Regions from separate parts of the Homo sapiens genome. Here region 1 is linked to region 2. Evidence: promoter capture Hi-C in 16 types of primary human blood cells and fetal thymus (Javierre and others, 2016). All regions are on one chromosome and are shown on one strand. Each heading gives the region's core, a stretch centred on a gene start or on the middle of the fragment in contact. The rest is flanking DNA. Distances are from core to core; before and after follow the strand shown.

Region 1 (3,803 bases), core at 154-2,653, 280 kb before region 2:
TGTCTCCATCACTGCACCAGCTCCCTTTCCCTTCACATCCTGTGTCATTCAGAGCTGGGAGTTCAGCCAATCAACAGTATCTACTAGGTGTCTGCTGTTCTGGGTGCTGGAGATACTGTGGTGAATCAAACATGCTGATAAACACAGAAGAGGTTAACAGAGAATAAACTGGACCTGGCCTCTCCCTTAACTCTGTCTCTGCCATCAAGTAAGACAGGCACAGAATGCTGACAGGTGGCTTGGGCACGTGGGAGTCCTTGACAAAAGCAGTGAAGATGGAGTGGAAGTTGTGACTCTTCCTGCACATGCATTTAATTATACAACACACAAGTATTAAAAGCTTAATGTTTGCCAGTCACTGTGCTGGTTGCTGGATTCTTCTGTGAGTAAAACAGACACAAATTTCCTGGACTCAGGGAGTTTCAAGTTGAGTGAGAGATGGAGGGGTAAACAAGTAAGTCATTATAAAATGTAAAGTGTTATAAAGAAAATAACACAGGGGACTGGGACAGGAAATGAAAGAGAAGACATATTTAGTGCAGTAAGGAAGGTCTCACTGAAGAGCAATCATGTTTAGGCATAAAAAAGAAAAAAGGAACCATCCTTGTGAAGAACAGTGGAAGAGCATTCGAGGCAGATGATGTAGTATGCGCCTAGGCCCTGAGGAAGGACAGAGCTTAGTGAGTCCCAGCAATGGGAGGGAAGGAGGACAGGGGTATGAGATGAAGTTGGCAGAGGGCAAACCATGTCATTTGTATGTTATTCAAGGTTTAATCAAGGCATTAACATTTTATCAGGTAAGGGGATGGTAGAATATAGTTTGCATTTCAGAACAGTCTCTGTGCTGTGGAGAATCATTAGTAACAGGGAGGACTGGAGGAAGTAGAAAGAGCTTGAGGAAGGTATTGTTGTATTCTAGGCAGGAGATGAGGGTGATTTGTAATAGGGTGATGATGGCAAACAGAGAGAGTGGTGGATGGATTCAAAATAGATGTTGAAGGCAGAATCCACAATACTTACAGATGGACTGAGTGTGGTCAGGGAAAGGGAGGAATTAAAGCTGTTTCCCAGATATCTGGCTGTTTACAGAGATAAGGGAGACTGAAGGAAGAACAGGTTTGGGAGAAAAATCGAGGGTTCTTCTTTGGACATGTGAAAAATGGAGATGCATGTGAGATACTAAAAGGGAGATGACGGGCGGGGCACGGTGGCTCACACCTGTAATCCCAGCACTTTGGGAGGCCGAGGCGGGTGGATCACGAGGTCAGGAGATCGAGACCATCCTGGCTAACACGGTGAAACCCCGTCTCTACTAAAAATACAGAAAATTAGCCGGGCGTGGTGGCGGGTGCCTGTAGTCCCAGCTACTCGGGAGGCTGAGGCAAGAGAATGGCATGAACCTGGGAGGTGGAGCTCGCAGTAAGCCGAGATCACGCCACTGCACTCCAGCATGGGGGACAGAGCAAGACTCCGTCTCAAAAAAAATAAAAAATAAAAAATAAAGGGGAGATGTCAAGTGGATATTTAATAGTTGGATAAATACGACAGTGAGCAATCTGGGCCAGAGGTGTATATACATTTATTAGTTACCAGTCTATTGATTATATTTAAATTCATGAAAATGGATGAGCCTTGTAAGGAAAGTCTATAGACAGAAAAGAGAAGAGTTTCTGATGGCCAGCCCAGGGGTTAGAGAGAGGACCCATGCAGGATGCTGGGTAGCCGGCAGCCAAAGGGGCAGGAGGGAAGCCGGCACACAGGGATGTGTCAGACCAAGAGCAGAGGGCACTTCAAGAGGGAGCCATGCCCACAGGGTGGAACGCCATGGACATTTGTGTCAGAACAGCCCCAAACAGTGTCCACTGGATTTGGCCATATGTAGGGAGACCACTGCAGACCATGAGAAAAGCAGCTTCAGTGTCAGTGATGTGATGGGATCAAGCAAGGTTGGAGCCATTGGAAGCCACTCAATGGAAGAATGAGTGGAAGAAGGAGAGGCCTTAAACACAATGCATTCAATAAGTTTGGAAGAGAAATAGGACAGGAGCTGAAGGGATATTCAGGGTCACGGGACATTAAGAGTAAGCCTGTGTGCCATTTGGAGTGACCTAGGAAGAGGGAGTTATTGATGAAATGGCCTCGGGGCTGGGAAGGAAGAGGGAGAGAGACTTGATAAAGGGAGAGGGAGGAGGGACAGAGCCCCTAGAGGTAAGAAGGACACTTTTGTCAAGATGATGGGACCCAGGGAGGTTTGTAGAACCATCATGGGAAGACATGGCAGCACCTGTTTGATGAATTCTAGTCTCAATAAACTGTGAACCAAGTGTAAAAGGAGGCATGAGATGTGTAGCAGAAATGAGAAAAAGGTGAGGAGAGCCTCTGCGAGGCACTCCAATGCCTCAGGTCTTTTTGTTGCTGGTAGTTTTTTCCTCATTGTTTAGTTTTGACTCTGAAGAGAAAAGCTTGGTGGAATTGGGAAAAGGGAACTCTGTGAGTTCTTGTCCTGGAAGGAGGCTGCAACATCAAAAGCAGGGAGAAATTGCAGGAGAACCAAGAGGCTGCAGTTTTGGAGATTCATGTTGCCATGAATTAAAATTTAATTCTATTTCAGAGAAAAATTCGTTTAGCTTACTAATAGGAAACAACCATACTGATGGCCAAGGTGGGTTTTTACATGATTTGAATAATTAAGAACACTAGAGGGCAGCATTGCTGAAAGGAAAAATCAACTGTCTTCTAGATACTGTTAAGTGCATAACATGGAGATGCCTTTTAAAAGCCTCCTAGGCAGAATAACAATTCTGAGTGAGGAAAGGATGTTAGAAAGATAGTTTAGTGCACTGCATCACCTGCCTCTGGGAAAGGAGACTCAGACAAATGTGATTAAACCTGATAACCCAGTACTGAATGTGACTCTCCTGGTCTGGGCTCCTTCCCTAGTTTTCCAGAAGCCTTAATCCCAGTGGTTCTCAACTCCGACTACATATTAGAAACACCTGGAGTGGGGGCTTTACAAACTATCCAGGCCCAGGCTCCACTGAAATTCTATTATATTAGAATCTCTTGGGGGTGAGGCCCCAGCATCGATAATAATTTAAAAACTCATCCCAGATGATGATTCTAGTGTGCAGCCAGGATTTAGAACCAACGTGCTTGTCTACACCAATGGTCTCAGGGTGTAGCTCCTGGACCAGCAGCAGCAGCAGCAGCAGCAGCAGCAGCACCTGGAAACTTGTTACAAATGCAAATCCCAGGGCCTCACCCCAGACTTAGTAAATTACAAAGTCTGCATATGTGTTTTAAGCAGCCTTTCAAGTAATGCTGACACACACTGCTTTATACTATTCCCAAGTAAGCCATTTCAATGGATACAAACGTCTTCCTATATTTCCTCTTTTGCTTTTTTATCTAACCCAAGTGCTTCATGCTATAATCTTTAGTTATTTGCCTTAGTACATAAGCAAACAGATAGCTAGTATGATATCTACTCTCTCTCTCTCTTCCTCTCCCTCTTTCCCCTCCGCCCCACTCCACCACCATGAATCAGAATCGCCTGGGAAATTTGGCAAAAATGCTGAGGTCCAGGTCCTAGCCTCCTTCAGTGAGCCAGGGCCTTTGTATTAGTTTCATTAGCTCTCAATCACAAACTTTTAGAAAAACTGACTAAACTATTGAAAGACTTTGTTAAGTCCTCCCTCTGCGCTCCTTTCCAGGTTGAAATAATCATTATTCTTTAACCTAATGATGCCTCCCCAGCGCTCACCCGCCACAGGCAGCTCTCGTACATACTCCCTGTATCCCTA
Region 2 (3,756 bases), core at 1,207-3,706:
TACTCTACTGAATACCATAGGCAATTGTAACACAATGGTAAGTATTTGTGTATCTAAACATAAAAAGGTACAGCACAAATATAGTCTTATGAGACCATGATCATATATGTGGTCTGTCATTGCCTGAAATGTCATTATGTGGTACATGACTGTATTGTTAAATGAATAGATAAATGAACACAAGGCCACAAATATGATAAAATGGTGCAGCCATTAAGAAACTTAAAACTGGATGATAACAATTCTAAGTATTGTTTTGCCTCATGCTCTTTGGATGTCAAGCTTATATAATAAAGAATAAGCCTGTGAGCTTATCTTTACAAGTAGAACATTCAGCACCAGGCCTGAAACATAATGAAACAATCAATAAGTATGTGTTAGATGTCTAACTAAATGTTTTCCCATACTATGCCAACTATCACAGTTTGAGACATAGGCTCTTCCTACATAGGAATGTGGTCTTCTCTTAAAAAAAAAAACTTTTTAAATTATAATTGCAGGGTTGGCAATATCTTGCTACCCAAACAAGTACCTCTAGGCACAGCTGCTATTTACCAACACCCAACTGGAGAGGAAGCAAGGAATTAGCACAGTCAAAACTGGAAGGTCTTCGATACATTTCTGTGTTAATCCATTGTCTCTCTTCTCTGTACCCCTCTCTATACCCCTCATTTAAGACCTCTAGTCCCTCCTGCTTTTCTGAGCCCATCTTCTTACCAGCTTAGGAAATGACTCTATATCATCTTACTCCTCCATTGATTACACTTCAGGATGAATAAGTGTTGTCCTTTCCACTAATGCATCCAACATAATTGTGTTCCATCTTTTATCTGTAACCACATAATATGGTTTAAATTTGTGTCCCTGCCCAAATCTCATGTCGAATTGTAATAATCCCCAAGGTTGGAGGAGGGGCCTGGTGGGAGGATATTGGATCAAGGGGACAGATTCTCCTTTGCTGGTCTCTTGACTATAAGTGAATTCTCACAGATCTGTGAGGTGTGTAGCACCTCTCCCCACTCTCTTCCTCCTGCTCTGGCCATGTAAGCTGTGCCTTCCACCATAATTATAAGTTTCCCAAGGCCTCCCCAGCCATGCTTCCTGTACAGCCTGCAGAACCACGAGCCAATTAAACCTCTTTTCTTTACAAATTACTCAGTCTCAGGTATTTCTTTATAGTAGTGTGAGAATGAACTAATACACCATAGAAAGAAAAATAGTCTTGTTCTTTTTAAAACAGAGTTTCAAACCTCTCCCTCAAAAAGACTGTGTTCAGGGCTGAGACCCCTCAGAGGCTCCCCTTTACACACAAGGAAGAGGGGAATGATGCCTCTGGGGTATGTCTAGTGCCCTCTCCCCAAACTCCACACTAGAACAACACCTTCTCTCTGTGTAAACCCTAGTCTCCGCTGGGGTTCAGGTATGCCATGGAACTCAGAGGCGGGCTTGCCCAGAATCTTGACAGTGGGAAATAACCAGCCTACAAAGGGCCATGTGGCCATAGACAGAAAACTGTCTGTGGAAGGAGAAATAGGGTGGTCAGAAGAGGAGAGCAATCCTGAGAATCACATAGTGGCTGTCACTGAGGTTTTTCTCTGATCTATCCCCCATTGACTCCAACCTAGGTCAAGGGTAAGAAAAGCCTGGAACTCAACCTGAACAAGCTATTTCACTTAAGACTCTGTAAACCTTTGGAGCCTTTCAGTGGAAGGCAACATGAGAAGGAGAGGTGCCCTCCCCACTTCCCACCTCCAAGCTCTAGCACACCTGCAGCGGTCTCTAGTGGAACATGATAGAACCCCGAAGAGGCAGGCTAGTGAGAAGGAAGAAACAGCAGACGCTGTGTGAAGGCTGACCAGGCTTGCTTTCGACCACACATGAGATGCATTTCAGGGACTTCCAGAAATGCTTGAGGAAACAACACAGGGGCTGGGATCTGTAACAGTCAAATGGAGGCAAAACCATCAACTGCTGCTCCTATGTTCAAAGCACACGGTAGGGCTGCAGACAAGAAGTGTATGGCTTTTTGTGAATCACAAAATCTAAGCTTTCATCCCACCTCCTAACCAGCACTTGCTTCTTTTCTCCTCTCCCCTTCATCTGAAGACTGTGCACTATCTGAGGGCAAGGACAGCATCTGACTTCCCACCGACACAGTTACTGCCAAGGGGAGGTGCTCAATAAAGATGTGTGGAATGGAATGAATGAACAGAGGAATGGAATTGAACCAATTTGGTACAATAAATTATTGTGCAAAATTTTAAGGTGGAAGACGTTTCTGATGTTTACTTTCAATGTATGCAACAAGAAGGTAAGTTTAAAACTGGATCCTACCACTTACCTGCTCTCTCTTCCCGTGCCTCTAGGATTCCACTGCTAAATGTGCAGATAATTCCCATATTCATTGCTGACTCAGTGTCTCTTTCTGACCTTGTATTGATGACATGGCAGAAAGGGCTGGAGGAGGAAAATCCATGTCTAAGCAGAACAGCTGTGTACGAGGAGGTCCCTCCTTAAGCACAGTTTGCCTAAACAGCTCTGAACCGGGATGGTGCCCTAAAAGGGCGTTTCCGGAGTTTAGGGTGAGAACTTACCACTGTGCCTGCTAGTGGGGGCCTTGAGCCTGTTACATGAAGAGGAGAATCATTTGGTGAGTGACTGGGGTTTAGGTTTAAGCATCCCTGTTTACTAACTGCATGACCAGGAACAAATTTCCTAACTTCTCTGGGTCTCATTTGCCTTCTTTCTTGAAATATAATAATGTCGACTTACCTACATCACCTATTGTTGAATCAAACAAGAGAATCGTATACTAATTTGCATATAAAAATAGTACACACACACTAGATTCAGACTATCATGAGAAAAGACAATTCTCACTGAAATCGGAGAGAAAGTCTTTTTTAGCTGCTTGGAATCGTCCCACTTTATTGCAACATTGATTGTGATTTCAAACACTTTTTTTTCTAAGTCAAACTTTCAGGGCCTATTAAATACCTTTGAGAACAATGTCCTTTGTCTTTGCTTTTTAAATTAGTTTCATTCTTGCAAATGGCCAGTCGTTTCAGTACTATCAAAAGGAGTTCACGTTGTAAAAGTATAAAAAAGAACTTTTTCCTTGCATTAGTTACTGATCAGTGGAGTAATGGCCTACATTTGTTCACACAAAGACCTAATGGATAACTTTTTAAAAACAACATTGTGACGAAGAAGTAGTTAGATTTAGAAACCATTAAATATTATAGAATAGAATAACCCAAAAGCACTTAATCATCATGTAGCTTTGTAAAAAATCTATAGTTGGAATTCATTCTTCATATGCTTTTATTTCTATGGAATCCTTACAAGCTCCAGGCTGTGTGTTTTTTACTTTTAGTAAATGTTTATCCCTTATGTCTGTGTCATAGTCCACCATGGTTTGATTTGCCCCAAAGTCAAAATACTCTCTTGATCATTGTACACAGAATTAATCAAGACTGACAGGACTATTAATGGTGCTTATCGCTTACATAAGAGAGAGGAGGAGTGCTGGGCTTGGCTGTGGGGTGTTTCCTGAAACTGGAATAAAAGGATCCCCGCCAAAACATGGAAAGTTGTTCACAAGCTTTGCAGATGAGCTTTTCTTTTTTCTTTTTCTTGATTTCAATAGGTTTTTGGGGAACAGGTGGTACTTGGTTACATGAATAAGTTCTTTAGCGGTGATTTCTGAGATTTTTGTCTGTTAACCCTGCTGATTATTTCTTTTGCTGTGCAGGA

The links. Contacts are between HindIII fragments. The CHiCAGO score rates a contact against its expected background, and 5 or more counts as called.
Region 1: a contact is called between a fragment that was not itself captured here and the fragment with the promoter of KCNAB1-AS2 in region 2, in 1 of 17 cell types (endothelial precursors). The highest score is 5.5, in endothelial precursors.

Annotation. Positions count from the first base shown.
Region 1 is chr3:156,508,796-156,512,598 of GRCh38, reverse strand. All of the region lies in intron 8 of KCNAB1 (potassium voltage-gated channel subfamily A regulatory beta subunit 1), which reads right to left. Among named protein-coding and RNA genes, the nearest start is that of SSR3, 44 kb to the left of the region's middle. The HindIII fragment of the contact is 2,122 bases long and covers 343-2,464 here.
Region 2 is chr3:156,226,583-156,230,338 of GRCh38, reverse strand. It overlaps KCNAB1-AS2 (KCNAB1 antisense RNA 2), which reads left to right and starts at 2,456. Exons shown (of 4, transcript NR_046617.1): 1 at 2,456-2,650. The region is part of intron 1 of KCNAB1 (potassium voltage-gated channel subfamily A regulatory beta subunit 1); the gene reads right to left. The HindIII fragment of the contact is 1,557 bases long and covers 2,050-3,606 here.